Linked DNA regions of Homo sapiens: region 2 is linked to region 1. Evidence: promoter capture Hi-C in 16 types of primary human blood cells and fetal thymus (Javierre and others, 2016). All regions are on one chromosome and are shown on one strand. Each heading gives the region's core, a stretch centred on a gene start or on the middle of the fragment in contact. The rest is flanking DNA. Distances are from core to core; before and after follow the strand shown. Region 1 holds the start of PHF14 (PHD finger protein 14). Region 2 has its middle 370 kb from the start of PHF14.

Evidence for each region. The method cuts DNA at HindIII sites, captures the fragments that hold promoters and counts their contacts. A CHiCAGO score of 5 or more calls a contact.
Region 2: a contact is called between a fragment that was not itself captured here and the fragment with the promoter of PHF14 in region 1, in 3 of 17 cell types (megakaryocytes, erythroblasts and M0 macrophages). The highest score is 7.5, in megakaryocytes.

What each region holds. Positions count from the first base shown.
Region 1 is chr7:10,971,970-10,975,419 of GRCh38, reverse strand. It overlaps PHF14 (PHD finger protein 14), which reads right to left and starts at 1,548. Exons shown (of 18, transcript NM_001007157.2): 1 at 1,096-1,548; 2 at 475-585. The coding sequence starts at 1,096. RefSeq lists silencers at 704-753, 1,734-1,793, 2,304-2,353 and an enhancer at 1,484-1,778. The HindIII fragment of the contact is 4,357 bases long and covers 1-2,130 here.
Region 2 is chr7:11,341,467-11,344,916 of GRCh38, reverse strand. No RefSeq gene overlaps it. Among named protein-coding and RNA genes, the nearest start is that of PHF14, 370 kb to the right of the region's middle. The HindIII fragment of the contact is 5,296 bases long and covers 1-3,450 here.

The sequences.
Region 1 (3,450 bases), core at 299-2,798:
TTTGAAGTGCAACTCTTACTCTGGTCAATTTTATTCTAGTAAAAGAGCTAATACACAAAAAAAGCAAAACTCCCCTAAGAGATTGTCAAGTGATCTGAAAAAAGAAGAACCCTGCTCAGGGACTATTAATGGTCCACACACCTCTCAGGATACTTTTCTACTTCGGGATATCTTTCAGTTTTTTCCTCTATAATATAAGCATAAATATATTTTAAGGTGTAAAACAGAGAAATCCTTTTGCATCTTTGGAAAAAGTCCTTCCCCTGACTGCTAATTATCTCTGAGGAAAACAGAAGCAATTATAGGTCTAGTGACAGGATCTAAAGGCAAAATGGGAAATCAAATGGACAAAATAAATGAAGTTTACGTGCTTTCACTTAAAATTGGCATTTTAATCAAAACCGATTTAAAAAGTCTAAAAATAAGCCTAACTCCAGAAAGCTGGGAAAGGGGAAGAGAGAAGGAAATATTTACCTGAGGCATCTCCAACTTTAAAATCACTGTCATCTGAACTATCATAATCAAGAGCTTCCAGCAGAGAAGCTGCCAAAGGCTTCACCTGCCTCCTCTTGGAGCTGCGATCCACTGTGAAGAGAAAAAAATTACATTGTCATTCATAATCACACCAAACACAGGGGAGAGTTGTGGTGCTAAGAGAACATAAAGATGACCTCGCACAAGGAATTTTTGTCTAACTGAGTTCTCAGCAAAAGGGGTCAGGAGAAGGTTGGGGTGCAGAAGCAGGGTGGGGAGGGCTGGACAGCTCCACGGGCAGTTTCAAAGGCAGCTCCAGCCCTGATGCTGCCAACGCCAACTCAGACCAGCTAAAATCGAAGCTGACCCTCTTGCTCATCTTTTCGAGATGTTTCTGCACCTTCCTCGTAATCCCCCACTTAGACATCGTAACAGTCAATAAAAACGGCAAAAATCAGGGAATAAAACAAGCGGGCTTCATTCCCGCGGACCATGGAGGGCGAGGGTCCACCAATCCTGCTTTCCCGCAGGACTCTCCCACCCCTGCCCTGCTCCCACCGGCCCTGACTTCTAGAATGGCTGAAATGGACCTCTCGCCGCAGAGGCCTCGGATACACTTACTAAGGAATCCGTGAGGTGGTCGTTTGGAGAAGACTTAGGGAGAGGCTGCAGGAGCCCAGGCAGCGCCGAGGTCGGGGACTGGGGCCGCGAAGACAAGTCCGAAAGATGCTATTTAAAACCGGCGCGCAGCCAGCCGGACAGGGGCGCTCCCAAGAGTAGCCCCGCGGTCCCCTAACCCCCCGCCCCCCCGGCCTCGCCTGGCCCTGGCCGCTCGAGCCCCTTCCCACAGCGCTCCCTGGCCGGAGAAGACCTCCGGCCCAGGCAGCGCAGTCAACCCGGCGGCCCCGGGGAGTTAATTTCTCCCGTTAAAACTAGAAGAAAAAAAATTAAAGAAAGAAAAACTTTATTAGCCTGGACCAGAAGCAACGAAAGACCAGAAATTGCACAGCGCGAGGGCGGCTGCCTCAGACAATAGGGAAAGCAGCGACCCGGATACAGCTCTGAAAAGGAAGTGAAAACACGAGGCTGAGCGCAGCCCTGAGAGCAGCAGGAATTGAGGGCGCATGCGCAGGACTCGCCCCCGCGCACCCTTCCCGAGCAGGAGCCGAACAGAGCCGAGTGAAAGCCCAGGGAGCCGCGCGGAGGCGAGCGGAGCCGAGTAGTGCCAAGGCGGAGCAGAGATCCCCGCCAAACCCTGTGCAATTCCGCCCATAAACCCCAAAGGCTCCGCCCTCTCCGCGCCTAATTCACCTCCTGAGTCCAAATCCCTGGGAGGCCAGTTTTTGTTTCTGATCTGTTTTTTAAGGATTTACTGAGTAAACGTTCCACAAAGGGATGTTTGCTACCTTAAGCCACTACCAATATTTAAATGATATTGTCACCGGTAGAGGATCGTGACTGCAAGTTGTCCAGGTTCTTGGCGTTTTTAACAAAGAATTGGACAAAACGCCCAGCAAAGCAAAGAAAGAATGAAGCAACAAAACAACAAAAGCAGGGACTTATTGAAAATTAAAGCACGCTCTGTACGGAAGCGACCTGAGCAGCGGCTCAAGGGCCCGGATACAGAATCTTGAGTCCAAATACCCTCTAGAAGCTTCCTATTGGCCACCTAATGCTCACCTCATGTAAATGAAGTAACGCGCAATCAGTCTGATTGGTTGCAGAAAGCAGCCAACCAGAGGCTGAAGTGAAGTTACAAAGGTCATGCTCCTGTGCAAACATTGGTGCAAAAAGCAATCAATCAGAGGCTAGGGTGAAGTTACAAAGTGGTATACCTCTATGCAAAGGAAGATTTCCCCTGCAATCAGTTTGATTTCTTGCAGATGGTGAAGTTACAAAGTGATACTTCTATGCAAAGGAAGACTCTCCTGCAATCAGTCTGATTTGCTGCCCACAGCCAATTTCCCATCTGCCCTGCAGAAAAAGTGGGGGTTTGCAAAGGGAGTAGCCTCTGGTCCTTTTGTTACTTAGGCATGGAAAGTTAGGGGTTTCCTTTCAATTTAGTTCTTAGGAAGTCGGAGTGACACATCCTTAGGTTCCCTGCCTCCACACCCTATTCTCCTGCCTCACTCTCACCCAAACTATCATTGCCATGTGACCTCTCAAACTTTTCTATTGTGCTATAGAAACTTCTATTCCAAAATGTATAACCTACTTAGTAAACATTTTTCCTTTTCAATGCCCATTCTTTTTACCTCCTCATCTGAAATAGAAACAGTTACCCTGCAGCCCTCTCAAATGAAAACCACTCATCCTTCCATACTTCATTTTCTCAAGGTGCAGAAGTGGCATCCCATGCTTAATACTCCTCATTGCCTTTCAGATATTTATTCTTCCAGTTAAAATCCTAGGAACTTGGTTATTTTAAAAACTCCACTCTGGGAATTTCACTTCCATTCTACTTTAAACACCAACCATATCATGGACTGATAGTCTTATCTATGAAATTATAAATCCAAATATTCCACTGTTTGACAATAGCCTTTTAGATTTATTTGGAGCAATTATGCTGAATCATCTAAAAGAGAAATTCAAAATCTGGCATTCGTGTTTATGTAAAACTAATTTCTAGAAGGAGATTTTCAGAATCAAAATGTATTAATTCATTTACTTTAATAAATAACACCTAGTTGCTCTAGAAAAACTGTACTGCCGGGTGCGGTGGCTCACGCCTGTAATCCCAACACTTTGGGAGGCTGAGGCGGGTGGATCACTTGAGGTTGGGAGTTCGAGACCAGCCTGCCCAACATGATGAAACCCCGTGTCTACTAAAAATACAAAAATTAGCTGGGCGTGGTGGCACATACCTGTAATTCCAGCTACTTGGGAGGCTGAGGCAGGAGAATCACTTGAACCTGGGAGGCAGAGGTTGCAGTGAGCAGAGATCACGCCACTGCATTCCAGCCTGGGTGACAA
Region 2 (3,450 bases), core at 357-2,856, 370 kb before region 1:
CGTGGAAAAAATGTTTATCTTGAAATATCAGTTTTAAAAAGAACCAAACTGATTAAAATTTTGTCAAAGAAAAATTGTAAATATATTACATCTATGAAGAGGTTAAAGTCTGAAGAAGGAAAATATATAAAACTAATAAAAAAGGGTTTTTCTGGAGAACAAATTATAGGTGTCTTGTTTATTCTTTAATTATTTCTGAATTTTTCCAAGTTATCTGTAATGAACTTGTGCTACTTTTATAATCAAGAATTATATTTTAAAATCACAGAATTCAATCAGGACGAATTTCTTCCAAAAAAAATCACTAATTGATGATCAAAGAAAGCCAAATAATATGCCCTTGTATAATTACATACATTCATCTATGCAAAAAAATGAGTGAATTACATAAATAAAACCATCTGATACTATATTATACCATAGGAATAGCTACGTGTTCCTTTAGTCTTTGCAAGAGCATCTGTCACAGTGAAAATACTCCACGTGATACAGTTAATGAGAAGGTTGACGACGTATTTTTGAAAAAAGTTTTTTCTAGGACAAAATGGCTCTGTGATTTTTAATCCTTCCCAGGAAAGACACCTGCACTTAATTTCACCCTTTCTTCTAAAACCATTTATTCCATTAGTTTCACCATCTCACTTTTCACAGCAAATATTACAACTCTTCAGAAGCTCTGCAGAACTTAATAAAACAGCAAACATAGTTATATATCCAGCAGTCATTTTAGACAATTAAACGCAGTTTTCAGTTTCTCTACACGAATTTGATAAGTTGGAGCCCAGACATTGCTTTGAACTGTGATGAAAGGAGGAATTTCTGTTTCAAGCGACACCGTGCCCAATTTAAATTTTGGGAACGATCACCATAAAAAGTTGTCTTGACCAATTTATTCCACTAGATGGCAGTCTTGGGATGCTACATGTAACGAAATTGTGTAATTTCTGAACATTAACCAAAAGACTAGGAAAAAGCAAGGCCATGGGAAGGTAAAATGAGGTTTAAAACGCTACAATAAGGAAATATAAACAAGCAACGGGGAAAGATTTAGGAATCACAGCTGAGACTGATAAGGGGAAACAAAAAATGACTAGACTCTCCTATCTTTATTAAGCATGCATTTTCAGATGTATAGCTCACTCCCTTTCTTGCTTTGCTTTCATTAATCAAGCCCTCATGGAGCCAGTCCCCACCAGTGAGTGGACCAGATTCAGTGTGGCCTTGTGATGATCAACTCTGGCTTATGGCTCACATGCATGGCAAGCAAAAGTGGGGATCTAAAAATGCACAGAACTGCTTTGCTGCCCTCTGAAATGGAAGGGGAAGGGAAGATAAACAGACACCAGTTAGCAATGCAAGATGGAAGATGGATCATGTTCCTATACCTCCCAAGATACCACTTTATGCTAACTGAATGATTCATCTTTTTATGCTAAAGAAAACTACTTTGAATTAAAATTAGGCCATTTCAGAATCCCAGCAGTTTGAGATCACATCACTGATTCTTTCTGACTGAAGTAAAAGCTGGAAGTGTAGCCTTACAAAGACTTGAAACTGAAAAACACTTTTTGCCCAGAATAGAGAGGACATGTAACAGTACCTCATGCCTCTCATCAGGCTGTAGCATTGCAGGTAACTGCTTAATGTGGCTTTCTATGCTTTTCCTCTTTGGACCCTTACTTTTTCCAGTACTGGTTATGAAATGGAATTCAGGCTTCAGTTATTTCAGGAATGCCACAGATGAACTCAGCAGCACTAAACCACCTGAGAACCCAAGGACAAAGAACTATCGCTGAGTCTCTCATAATTGGTCCTTATCCTTCCACTAAAGTCATCACTATTTGAGACTGAATTGCTAGTACAAAGACTGAGTAGAAATCACCTAATGGCATTCATTTACTGGGTCAAGAAGGCTGTTTATTTTATTCTTAGAAAACACTGTTAATTCTTTAGTCTCCCCTTTCAAGAATTCATCTAGCACAATATTTGTCTGTAATTCTTATTAGTAAACCAGGGCAACTCCACAGATGTAGGAGAATGGTGTCAGGTGACTGCCTCATTATGAATGTCAGACTGAAGTTTAGGATATGAATTTCTAATTTTAAAAAATAGTCAATCAGGATGATAAAAATTTAGATAATCCTCAAATGCCAAAATGCTAAAAAAAAAAAAAAAAAGAAAGAAAAGAAAAAAGAAGCCATTGAATAGCACATCATTAGGAATAATGTGGAATAGAATACAAGCATCATCACGTACGCTATTACAAAAACTTAGTGACTATATATTTTTACCTAATCAAATATTGTTATTCGTTTCAACAGAAAGTAAATACTTTCTTTATCATCCAAATTGTCCATCTATATTGCACTAAATGTGTACCTGAAAATTTCCTGTTCAAGAATCTGTATGTATTATGTTTTGAAATTCAGTGTACAATAAATCCACTGTAAATCTATAAAATAAATACGTACTTGAACAGAGATGCTCATACAAGCATACATTGGGATAATATGAATGGAATGAATGAAAATATTGAATTAAGAAGTTTGATATGGAAAATATAAGACAATGGATATATTTTTCCTGGGGACTTGGTAGGTCTTCTTAAAAGGCATAAAGGAAAATATTAATAATTTTGGCAATATTAAAATTTATAACTTTGTTGCAAAAGGCATAACAAAATTAAAATATAAGAGATTGAGTGAAGTTATTTCCATTGTGCCTCCAAGACAAAGGATTAGAACCCAGAATATATATAAAGAATACAAATTACCCAACAAAAACAAATTGGCAAATATACCCAGCAAATCTCAGGTTAGGACAAAGTATATAAATATGATCCCAACTCTTCTGTGAGCCAAGGGAAAGGCTAAAGTAAAAAAAGGACAGTTGAAAGCAGAGGTGGAAATGGAGGGAAGACAGAAGATAATTTCATTGCCTTTGCATCTCCTCAGCTGTTGGCTACAATTTTTTTAAACTTTTACTTGCCTACCATTTATTTCAACTTTTGTACATGAATTAACTATGTTTTTTTAAAAAAAAAAAGTCCAGATTTCCCTAGTTTATTGTATCAAGAAAGCCTTAAACTCTATTCACAATAACTCAAAGACACCAATGCCAGGTAGAAGAGGAGGTGGTTGAAGAAAAAGAACAGACACTCTATTGCATACAAAGATGTAACGAACATTTTTAAAAGAACAATGGTCAAGTCTAGCCTTTAGGTGTAGATTTGATTCTGCATCAAGATGATGAATGAAATCCTGTGTATGGATGGCACTCAAATTTCAGATATGGTTCTGAGATTCTGACAAAGTGGACCACTTTAAACCAGGTCTTGTCTAGGAAAATCATAAGCAACTCAGCCCAGGCTTTACAAGTTGGCAATACAGATTTCCACAAGAGAGCAGCACGTCCTCAGTTTTGAAAAGTACGTTGGTGTGTTTTGCTTCC